Linked DNA regions of Homo sapiens: regions 1, 3 and 4 are each linked to region 2. Evidence: promoter capture Hi-C in 16 types of primary human blood cells and fetal thymus (Javierre and others, 2016). All regions are on one chromosome and are shown on one strand. The core of a region is centred on a gene start or on the middle of the fragment in contact, and the rest is flanking DNA. Distances in the headings are between cores, read along the strand shown. Region 1 overlaps TBC1D31 (TBC1 domain family member 31). Region 2 holds the start of FAM91A1 (family with sequence similarity 91 member A1). Region 3 overlaps TMEM65 (transmembrane protein 65). Region 4 overlaps ZHX1-C8orf76 (ZHX1-C8orf76 readthrough).

Region 1 (2,836 bases), core at 155-2,654, 620 kb after region 2:
AGAATTTCAATGCTTTCCGGTGAGCAGGCAATTCTAGTCTACCAAAGTTCCCATCACACTCTACATATTCTATATCCTGGGATTCCTGTTGTCAAAAAACACACACCAGCTTGGCCCATGCAGGCATATGTTTGCAGTCACCTAAAAACGTATGGAAAACTAGGCTGAGAAAAATACTCTTGGGAAACCAATGCCGTGTATAATGCCAGGAGATCATTTTAGAACTTTGCTTATTGGGCAAGAGAGCACTTTGCTGAAAATATTTGATAAACCATAAGATTATGCTTCGTGGCCCCAGAAAAAATAATTAGTACTACATATTATATACTTACTATGTGTCAAGCACTGGGCCAGGAACTTTTTAGGCCTGATCTTTGTTTTTGTTTTGAGATGGAGTCTCACTCTGTTGCCCAGGCTGGAGTGCGGTGGCGTGATCTCGGCTCACTGCAACCTCCGCCTCCTGGGTTCAAGTGATTCCCCTCCCCCTGCCTTCCAAGTAGCTGGGATTACAGGCATGTGCCACCACACTCGGCTAATTTTTCTATTTTTAGTAGAGAAAGGGTTTCACCATGTTGGCCAGGCTGGTCTCGAACTCCTGACCTCAAGTGATCCACCCACCGCAGCCTCCCAAAGTGCTGGGATTACAGGTGTGAGCCACCACGTCTGGCCTGCCTGATCTTACTGAATCGTCATATCAAGTATTTCTACCCTCCTTTTAGAGAGTAAGGTTCAGGAAGTCACAAGCAGCCCCACTCTGGAGCTAGGAAGTGGAGGGAGGGAGGAAGAGCAGTCGGTGCTGCCAGAAGAAGCAGGCAGAGGGCAGAAGGAGCTGGGCAGAGATGAGATGTTACAAGTCCGGTGGGGTCCCTGACAAAGAGGGGGTCCCGCTGGCAGAGGCGGGGGTGGGCAGGAAGATGGTGATATAGGCCACTCCACGCTGCTGGCGCTCTCCACCTGCTGCTGAGTTCTCCCTCAGTCCAGGCTATAGAGCTGTTGAGATGGTTTCCTGTTCTTTATTTCTCTATTCATCTTTAAGATAAACCTTTATCAACTAAAGTTACTGAGGTTTATGCTGGTCCCTGCAACCTGAAAGCTTAACACAGCTTTAACAGTTTCTAAAACATTTTTATTGTAAAAAGTTCAAGAAGCCATTTACAAGCCAAAAAGTATCAGAATTAAATAACACATAATTTTTATAGACACATTTTTCTGTACAAAGGGCTGATCTTTATAGGAATTTTAAATAAATAATCTAAAAATCAATGTCACTGATTGCAAAATAGGTCTCTCTCTCGACCGTCTCAAGGTGACATGCATTCTATGCAGCCAAAAGATGAGGGGTTTGACATCTGTGACGAGCCCGGGCAGTGAGTCTCTGGCGAAGATTTCTCACTTTCTTAATAAGATTCTGTCCCGTGGTGTCCCATTCTACTGCTCTTCTATTTAAAGAAACTTGAAAACGAAATTTAAAATTTAGAAAAGCTGAGTTTTCTGATGTTAGCGGTGATACAGCATTTATTTTAAAGATAAATGTGTTGTAAAAACAAATAATGAAATGCAATTCTAAAACCTAAATTTTACATATAACCTGGCCCTAGGTGGTTCCATTTACAAGCCAAATAATTATTTGTTGGACTGAATGAATGCTAACAGAGAACTTCTCTGCTTTGAAATACTTGGGATACAAACAATCTTAAGTTAGAAACAAAGCTTGTTAATTTAAGAGAGAATTTGAGTTTGTGCAACTGTAAGCTTCCTCACAATGATGCTTAATAGTAATGAGAAAAGGCATTCCAAGTCATAAAACTGTGAAATATACACCATGATTACCTTTCCAATAAATAAATAAAAATAAGTAAATCAAATGCTTTTTAATATTGGCTAATATCAGGAAGGTCCAGAATCAAGATTAAAATACTACAACATGTCCAAGTGTAAGAGCGTTACTGATTTAGAGGGGCTAGTGAACACTGAAATTTTTTTTAAAAGCCCTTAAAAATATACTTCTCTGAAATTTAGTTACATATTCAAATAGTCAGTCAGCTTCAATTTCTGAAAAACTGTTTTTCCTCCCAAAGAAATACAACTTTCATGCTTTTGTATTTTGCTGCCAAATAACCATTTGATATGTCAGAATAGAGAGTAGCTGAGAATCTCTCATACTTCATCTGACTCTTGAATGATTTTTGGTTTAATTCATATTCTGGCACAGAATTTATAGATGCATATAAAAATGTGAGTTAGCAAAAATATTTTACACAATACTGGAATCTCATGACTTGGTATTAGGCATATTTCTTATAAAGCTCGTCTTTTTGGGACATTGTATAAAAGTTTGTTCTTCCAAAAGAAGTCAAAAGATCTTGTTAAATACTGCTTCATCTATATGGCAATTTTATTGAAAAAAAATAGTTGAAAGTAAGTTTAACAGAGTGTCTTTTCTCCTCCTCCCTTTTAAAAATAAATAATATACTTTACTGGGAAGATTGTTAGCTTCTTTATGGATGGCCTAATGCTGTGATTACATTTCTGTAAGATGTTTCTACCCTGTCCCTTCTAAAAAACCCCAAACCCTCCAATGAACCACGTCCAGGGATCAAAAGTCAGCTCATCAGCATGAAGCCATTTGCCTTTGGCCATTCTACTGCTGCTGGGGCCCAGAATTCCATCGGAGTGCCCAGGGCAGACACATGTTTTCAATGGTTGTTGGAGGGAGCCCAGCCCAAATGAACAGAGTCAAGAAAATTCAACTATGCAATAGCTTTGAAAAACAACGCTGAGATTTTTTTTCACAAGGATGTCAAAATAGTTATGAATTTCATATTATCAACCTAGT
Region 2 (2,895 bases), core at 140-2,639:
GGTCAATCTATGACCAGAGCAGCAGTGCGTTATCTGTAGCCCATATCACTACTTTCGTAAGACTTAAAACCATCTGCTATGTTACGTATTTATTCATTTATTTGTTTACGTCTTTCTTTAGTAAAATGTAAGCTCCATGAAGGCAGTCTTTGTCTTGTTGACTGTTGCAAATTACCTGCACCTAGAGCAACGCACAGCACCTAGTAGGTGGTCAATAAATATCTATTAAACAATTGAGTAAAACAGACTAAAAAAATCGAGAATTAACTTTCAAAAACCTCATGTCACTCTTGTTGAAACATCTCTGATAAACCCATCTTGTCTGGAGGATAAAGTCCAACAAAACAAAGCACACAAGCACCTTCAAAATCTGGCCCTGACCACTTTTCCAGGCTCATCTGCTACCAGCCCCGCGCACTCAAAAAACTTCAACTCCAAACATGTCAGTCCAAACTCTGGTGATACAGTCACTTGCTACTCATGAGACATGTTCTTTCACTCATCCAAGCTTTGTAAAATGACTTTCCCTCCCCCTGGAAAAATCTTTATTCCCTCTTATTTAACTCTTATTCGTCCTCCAAGGCCCAATTTAAGTGCCTGCCTTAAAAATCCTTCCAACTCTCCCAGGATAATTTCTCCCTCCCTCTGCTCTCACATATACTACAATGCAGGTGTGTATGAGCTGCTATCATCCTGTATCGTATTCATTTGTTTCCCATCCCTTTCCCACCATCCTGAAATTCCGGAGGTCAAGGACCGTGTTTAAAATCTCTATCGCAGGTGCCTGGCTGAATGTATCCTGCGGGCAAAGGCGCCAGTCGAGTCCTGTGGACACCATGCCATCCCATTTAGCGATCGCCCCGTCCTGGCCCTGTGGCCCCACAGCCGTCCCCTCCTCGCCCTGGGCTGAAGGTCCGTCTCCCCAAGACCACGGAGGAGTAAAGGAAGGGAGTCAGCCGGCAGCAGCCCGCTCGGGCCCCGCGAGCGAGGCAAGCAGGTGACCGCTGGGCGGGCCGAATCCGTCAGGGGCCCGGTCCCAGGTTCCGGCCGTACCTGTCTCACGTTGGCCGGCAACTTGTTCCAGGGGTAGTTGTGCCGGATGTGGAACTCCACGTCTATGTTCATGATGCCGCGGCCAGGGCCGGCGGCCGGGGCCGCCACCGCGACCCACACTACGCCTCCCGCCTGCCCGCCCGCAGCCTGTCAGCGGAGCGACGCGGGAGGCCCCGCGCCTCACACTGCAGAAGGCCCAGGCTGCCCCATGGCCTAGGCTCCCGACAGTTCAGCGCCGCCCGGGCCAACCGAGTACAAGAGCAGCAGCGATTGGAGGCTGGATCGCCTGAACAGCTCCAAGTTTCTTCCTAGTTTCGGGCCGCCGGAAATGGCTCTGGGCACACGTCACTTCCGCCCGCTGGCGCGCGGCCGGAGGGGCGGGGCACGGACTGGCCTCTAGCCACGCCCTCTACAGGCTGCGGGGCGGGGCGACGACGAGGTACCGGGAGGTGCCCGGGTGAGCGTTCCCCGCCCGCGCGCTTCGTCTCCCCGTTTCAGTCTCTGAATGAACGGCGATAGTCGCTTGGGTCTGCGTTGCCGTTGCTGATGACCCAGTTTACTCAAATTGTAAAGCCGGAGGCACTGGGGTCGGTTTTCAGAGAAAAGCGACCTGGGAAGCGGGCCGGCAGTGGCTGGCTTTACATTGGAGTGCGGTGCGCTCGCGGGGGTTCTCCACAGGCCAGCCCGGAACCCGGGCCAGTGAGACGGGGCGGGGGGTTGCGGGGACGGGTCCAGGGCCCTGGAGAAAGAAATAATCTCTAAGTCAGGTCTCGCACCGGGTTGAGCGAGAAGCATGGGCAGTGGGAGAGCAAAGGTCTGGTAAGCCCTCTTCCCTTCCGCGGTGTGCTGCACGTCATTGGGCTCCACTTCCCAAGAAGATCCAAATTCTTACAATGCAGGGATTCAGGGAGCTGAAATTTTAAACAGTGGTGCTGACAGGTCGAGGCAGCCTACAGGGCTGACAGAGAGATACCCTTGCCAACTTTGTCATGCAGCCTGTCGGTTTCTGCTTTATTCTGCTCCACACAAATGCCTCCAGAGTCACTTAAAAGCAAAAATCCAGCATGTCTTAATTTCAGATTGAGTGATAAGGTCTTTGGGAATAATTTCTTTCAGAAGTTGTTACGCTGCCTTAGCAAACCCGTGACCATTATTCCTGGCAGCAACCAGAGACAAGTTCAGTGTTATTGCAACTGTTTTTCAGTTTTTAACAATGGTTTTAAATAATGTTTTATTATATACTGGGAGATGTATACTTAGAACTTTTTATAAGATACCTAGCTCACACCTCAACAGCTGGCAAGTCTGATGCTTAGCAGAAACCCCATTATGTCTGATGAAATAAAGGTGACAAGTACACACTGCCCTTGCTTAGATGTTTTGGTCTCCTATTATCCAACTATAATAACCCAAAGATAAGTGCTTTGAACCTTATGTTTACAGATCCTCATCAGCATAGCTAAGGTTAACTGAACTCTAACCGTGAGACATTTATTCAACAAATATTGATTACCTGCCCGCCATGTATTAAGGCCTTGACTTGACAATAGATTATTCCTCACAACCCTGATATTCCTACAACAGTAACCACTTACTATCCCAGTTTGATAGAGGAGGAGACTGAGGCTTGGCAGGGCTTCATGACTTGCTCGCAAGATCACACAGGTAGCACTGACAGAGCCAAACTGGAGCCGAAGGCTATCCTCACTCCAGAGCCATCCTTTCAGTTCCCCAACTCAGGCTCTCACTCACTGAACTCTTCTACCTCCTGTTCCAATTTAGACAATGTTCATTCAAAGTCAACGACATAAACATCCTCTAAAATAATGCTTTACAGTTCTA
Region 3 (3,038 bases), core at 83-2,582, 600 kb before region 2:
GTGTGCACTCAGTATGCAGTTTAAAAATAGTCAATTCTGAAAATATGCTCCTTGGAAAAATAATATAGTCAGTCATGTACTAGAACATTAACTTTTGAATCTTTCTGCACTGACAAGACTATTTGAACACACATTTTACCTTTTCCAAGTAATTTCTTGGAAATTCTGCATTGTCAACAAGTTACAAGATTGGAGGGCCCTATGAATATAGTTTTGTGGCAGTTCTTGAAAAACATGTCCTGCAAGGTGACTGAATAATTTTTTTCTCATACATTATTATTTTTTACATGCCAGCAGTATTGCAGTAGCAATGCTACATTTCCTAATAAAGATAATATTTTTAAATTTAACGTGGTTTTAAATATTCTGAAAAGGACCTAAGCACTTTAGTCAATGGAGATCATTAGCATCAATTAAACTTAGTTATGTTACTAATATGAGAGAGAAATTAGTAATTTAAATTGTCTTCTTTGCTCAGGAGAAACAGTCAAGGATATTTGAAACAATGGTTAGTCAGATGCTTATCTCTCCTCTTTATATGCTAAAGAACATCAAAGTTTAAATCAGCTATTTTTGCTGATGTCGATGACAAAATGATTGTCCTATGAATCAAATGACACAGATGCTGCTGCTTTGTTAGTGTATGTAGTCTTGGTGTTCACTTACTGTTTTCAGTATCAATACATATAGTTATGGAGATAACTAGAATCATCACTTAGGAAATTACCTTATTCATTAATCATTAAGGTAAAAGGGATTTTATTATGTTGGGAATGCGTACAGCTCATTCCATTGCTGAAATCAACAATTTTTTTCCAGCCAGATAAATGAAAAACTCCCATGTTTTCTTTTATTGTTGCTTTTTGAATAATGTTTTGAAGTACTCAACCGATGTATTGTGTGTGTGTACTAAGTGTACTTTCTAACAAAATTAATTCTATTTAAAGGGCTATTTCTTGCCATAGGCAATCTTGTGTGTCTTTGGAAAGGGTGCTTGTATAAACTAATGAAGTGTTTTGGATTTGGTATGGAAATGTTACTGAAAAAATATCATCCATGCTTTGATATGGCAGTGGAATCTGCTGTTGAAATTTGGCACATTTGCCCTTATCTTTCTTATATGTTTATCAGTAGGCATGTGATATAATCTGTGATGAGATAAAGCTTTGGAATCAGTTCGTAATAGATAAGGCAGACCTTGTGGGATATCTTATCATAGTTAAATAGAATATTGTGATTTTTAAAATTACAAACCAATTTCTTTCCCAATTTAAAAAAAAGTTGAGTTTGCGCCTTCAATTTACCTGCTCAGCCTGATCTCTCTTCTTCCAGAAACAGACCATATTCTGCTGATAGAGCATTATTCATGTTTTTACAAGTAGTACTGGCAAGCTGACATTATTACAGTGGCCTTTCAATGTTAGCCAAAATTTTTAAAACAAATTTTCTTCCCAATTTTTGTAATTAATATTTCCATTTATAATTATTTTTTAAAGCTTTTAAAATATAGCAATTTGGTATTGAAAAATAGACAGTGCTCATTGTATTAGTTATCCATTGCGGTATAACAAATTATCCTAAAACACAGTGGCTTAAAACAAGCATGTATTAACTCATAATTTCTGAGGCTCAGGAATGCTATAGCATCTTAGTTGAGTATTTCTGGCCCAGGATCTTAAGAAGTTGAAATCAAGCTCTCAGCTGGGGTGGCATCATCTGAAGTCTTAACTGGGGCTGGAGGATCCATTTCCAAGAAGTCTCACTCACATGGCTGTTGGCTGGATGTCTCAATTCCCTCCCATGTGGTCCTCCACAGGGCTGCCTGAGTATTCTCATGACATGGCAGTGGGTTTCCTCTAGAGCAAGTGATGAGAGAGCGAGAGAGCAAGAGAGAGCGAGTGTGTTTGCAAGACAGCACCTGTGGGCACCTAAGCTGGAAGCCACAGACTTTTATAACACAGTCTTAGTAGTGACAGTCCATCTCTTTTGTCCTGACACATTGTGGGAGAGTACTACAGAAGGTGTGAATACAAGGGAGTGGGAATCATCGGGGGTACATCTTTGAGGCTGGCTTCCACACTTATTTAAGGTGGTGTAATTAATGCTCATCAGAGAGTTACACAGAGAGACAAGAACTGGCTATTGGAGAGGTAAAATGAGAGATATGTTTTGAAAAAAGGAGCCTCTTAGGGAATATTTTTGTTATAATATGTATACTATAAGCCACAGACTTTTAAAACGCAGTCTTCGAAGTGACAGTCCATCTCTTTTGTCCTGACACATTGTGGGAGAGTACTACACAAGGTGTGAATACAAGGGAGTGGGAATCATCGGGGGTACATCTTTGAGGTTGGCTTCCACATTATTTAAGGTGGTGTAATTAATGCTCATCAGAGAGTTTACACAGAGAGACAAGAACTGGCTATTGGAGAGGTACAATGAGAGATATGTTTTGAAAAAGGGAGCCTCTTAGGGAATATTTTTGTTATAATATGTATACTTAAGATATTTAAAAAATGAGATTGTTTTTACATATAGCAAATAAAAGATGTATTGAGGTGAACAGAGCAGTTTTTCTATCAATGTTAGGTCTCAATTAGCTTGCATTTTTTGATTACTCTATGTGAGTGGTAATTGTGTGCTTTTGACATTTTTTACCATTTATCTACGTCTGTATACATTAACCAAATAATTCTAAACTTTAATCTTGTAGTCCCCCATTTTTTGTGATTGTTTAAGGTAGGGTGAAGAGCTTTGTTTTGAGAACTTGCCATATAGTATAAGAGGACGTTGACAAAATGAAAGACTGAAAGATAAAGAGCTTATACTAAATTGAGTATCTAAAACACTTAAAAATAAATTAGGCTTTCTTATGGAATCCCTGTTCACTAGAGATCTTGGACCTTTAACAAGATTATCCTTATTTTTTTTCAGCCCATTGCTCAGGATTATGTGAGAAAATAGAAATTCTTTTCTTAAATTTTTTTTATTTTTTGAGACAGAGTCTCACTCTGTTGCCCAGGGTGGAGTGCAGTGGT
Region 4 (2,803 bases), core at 256-2,755, 520 kb after region 2:
TAATGGATAATAAATATTAAGCTCTTGGTTAAATGTTTTTCAGCCATTGAAAATGTTATGAAAAAGCCTTGAATATGCATGCTGCTTTCATTTTTATAAACTTTTTATTTTTTAACTATAGCTTTATTAGTAATTCCAAAATGCTGCAATGTAGCTGATTTCCTCACTCAGACAGCTGGCTTTGTGGGTGGCTTTTTTCATACTACTGTTAACTTTTTTAAAAAAGAAGCAATGTAAAGACCGTAATGCACTAAGCTTTTTTTTTTTCTTTTACACGTTTAAAAACTTCTTAAAGCACTCTGTAATATAATGATTAAATTGCTCCCTTTTATAAACATTGCTAATGTGGTCTGAGTTTTGTTTGACAATAATTTTAATGTTCTCAAAATTTGAAATGTCAAGTATTAGAAATGAAGCCTTTGAATATAGTTGTTTCCCTTGCAATATGTTAACTCTGTGTAGCTGTATATAACTATTAATTTCCCTCATCTCTTTTATAGGCCTGATAAAACTCTTCTCTGACGTTTGCTAGCTTTTAAATATATTTATTTGACAGAGCAAAAGAACCCTCTTCTGGTTGATTGTGACCTTGAATACAAAATAAAAGTAGTGATTAGTAGTTTACAGTGACCTTTTTTTTTTCATTTTATTAACAAAGTCAATTTTTAAAACATTGTGGTAAAATATATATCACATACTATTTGCCATTATACCAGTTTTTAAGTGTAAATTCAATGGCATTAATTATATTCACAGTGCTGCACCACCTTCACCACTTTTCCAAAAGTTTTTCATCACCCCAGACAGAAACTCGGAACCATTAAGCAATAACTCCCCATTCCTCCCAGCCCCTGGTAACCTCTAATCTACTTTTTGTCTCTATGAATTTGTGTATTCTTGATATTTCAAAGAAGTAGAATCCTAAAATATTTGCCCTTTTGTGTCTGGCTTATTTTAACTTATAATGTTTTCAAGTTCATCCATGTTTTAGCGTATATCAAGACTTTGTTTCTTTTCATGGCTGATTTATGTTTTATTGTGTGTGTGTGTGTGTGTTTGTCTGTACACGTGCACTTCCTCCCACACACATTTTGTTTATCCATGTATCTGTTGATGGAAACTTGTTTTTTTCCCGCCTTTTGGCAATTGTGAATAATGCTGCGGTGAACATTGGTATACAAGGATCTGAGTACCCATTTTCAGTTCTTTTGAGTATATCAAGGAGTAGTATTCCTGAATCATGTGGTATTCTGTGTTTAATTTGTTGAGGAACCACCAAACTCTTCCACAGTGCTAAAATGTTCTCTGAAGCATCTGTACCATTTTACGTTCCACTAGCAATATACAAGCATTCCAGTTTCTCCACATTTTTGCCAACACCTTTCATTTTCAGTTTTAAAAAGTGATTATAAGCCCAGTGCGATGGTCTGTGTCTGTAGTCCCAGCTACCAGGGAGGCTGAGGTGGGAGGATCACTTGAGCCTAGGTATTTGAGGCCAGTGAGAGCAATATAGTGAGACCCCATCTCTAAAAATAAAATAATAAAAATTATAACCATCCTAGTAAGTATGAAGTGGTGTCTCATTGTGGTTTTGATTTGTGTTTCCCTAATGATGAGTGATAATGTCATTAGGAAAATGCAAATCAAAACTACATCTTTTCACATAATTATTTGTATATCTTCCTTTGAATATATTGAAAGTTTGTTCAATCCTTTGCCCAGTTTTTAATTGGGTTGCCTTTTTGTTGCTGAGTTTTAGTTCTTTATATATTCTGGATGTTACAGCTTTATCAGATACAGTTGCTTCTTGACTTAGAATGGGGTTTGTCCTGATAAACCCATTGTAAGTTAAAATTTTTGTAAGTTGAAAATCCATTTAATACCCTGATGAACTCACCATAAACTTGAACTATCATAAACTATTACTATTTTTTGAGACAGAGTCTCTGTTGCCCAGGCTGGAGTGCAGTGGCACCATCTTAGTTCACTGCAACCTCTGCCTCCTTGGTTCAAGCGATTCTCATGCCTCAGCCTCCCAAGTAGCTGGGATTACAGGTGCCCGCCACCATGCCCATCTAATTTTTATATTTTTAGTAGAGACGGGGTTTCACCATGTTGGCCAGATTGGTCTCAAACTCCTGACCTCAGGTGATCCACCCACCTCAGCCTCCCAAAGTGCCAGGATTACAGGCATGAGCCACTGCACCTGGTCACAATCATAAATTATAAATCCATGTGTTTCTCAGTTTACTATGGGGTTAGGTTACCATGGGATTATGTGTTAGTAAATCCATCTTAAGTCCATCATAAGTTGGGGACTGTCTGTATTATGATTTGCAAATAAGTTGATCCTCATTATGGATTCTGTATATGCAAATTTGCCTACACATTAAAATGTATTTGTAACCCCCAAATCAGTATTCATAGTACTTCCTTGGTCATTCCTGCACATGTACAGAATGGCAACAAAAAGATGTTCCCAGCAAAGGTCAACCAAAGAGATGCTTTGCCTTGTTTCAGGTCTCATACTGTAGAGAAGTGTGTGTGTGTGTGTGTGTGTGTGTGTGTGTGTGTGTGTGTCCATAGGAATGAAAAAGCATCCTTTTGTAGTCTATTTAGTGCTGTGTTTTCCATATTTTTCTGCTTTCTGCAGTTTAAAATGGTCCCAAGTGTAGTGCTGAAGTGTTGTCAGTGTTTCTAAATATTAGAAGGCTGTCATGTGCCCTATGGAGAAAATATGCGTTAGATAAGCTTCATTCAGGCATGAGTTACAGTGCTGTTAGTCATGAGTTCAGTGTTAATC

Evidence for each region. The method cuts DNA at HindIII sites, captures the fragments that hold promoters and counts their contacts. A CHiCAGO score of 5 or more calls a contact.
Region 1: a fragment that was not itself captured here is called in contact with the fragment with the promoter of FAM91A1 in region 2 in 1 of 17 cell types (total CD8 T cells); the score reaches 7.1 in total CD8 T cells.
Region 3: a contact is called between a fragment that was not itself captured here and the fragment with the promoter of FAM91A1 in region 2, in 2 of 17 cell types (fetal thymus and total B cells). The highest score is 7.9, in fetal thymus.
Region 4: a contact is called between a fragment that was not itself captured here and the fragment with the promoter of FAM91A1 in region 2, in 1 of 17 cell types (fetal thymus). The highest score is 5.0, in fetal thymus.

The regions. Positions count from the first base shown.
Region 1 is chr8:123,150,422-123,153,257 of GRCh38, reverse strand. TBC1D31 (TBC1 domain family member 31) reads right to left here. Exons shown (of 22, transcript NM_145647.4): 22 at 1,105-1,452. The coding sequence ends at 1,319. Among named protein-coding and RNA genes, the nearest start is that of TRM-CAT1-1, 5.5 kb to the left of the region's middle. The HindIII fragment of the contact is 617 bases long and covers 1,096-1,712 here.
Region 2 is chr8:123,766,933-123,769,827 of GRCh38, reverse strand. It overlaps FAM91A1 (family with sequence similarity 91 member A1), which reads right to left and starts at 1,389. Exons shown (of 24, transcript NM_144963.4): 1 at 1,054-1,389. The coding sequence starts at 1,125. RefSeq lists a silencer at 1,054-1,203. The HindIII fragment of the contact is 7,175 bases long and covers 511-2,895 here.
Region 3 is chr8:124,367,430-124,370,467 of GRCh38, reverse strand. All of the region lies in intron 1 of TMEM65 (transmembrane protein 65), which reads left to right. Among named protein-coding and RNA genes, the nearest start is that of TMEM65, 3.8 kb to the left of the region's middle. The HindIII fragment of the contact is 332 bases long and covers 1,167-1,498 here.
Region 4 is chr8:123,246,277-123,249,079 of GRCh38, reverse strand. All of the region lies in intron 2 of ZHX1-C8orf76 (ZHX1-C8orf76 readthrough), which reads left to right. ZHX1 (zinc fingers and homeoboxes 1) reads left to right here. Exons shown (of 4, transcript NM_007222.5): 4 at 1-624. Among named protein-coding and RNA genes, the nearest start is that of C8orf76, 6.3 kb to the right of the region's middle. The HindIII fragment of the contact is 2,496 bases long and covers 258-2,753 here.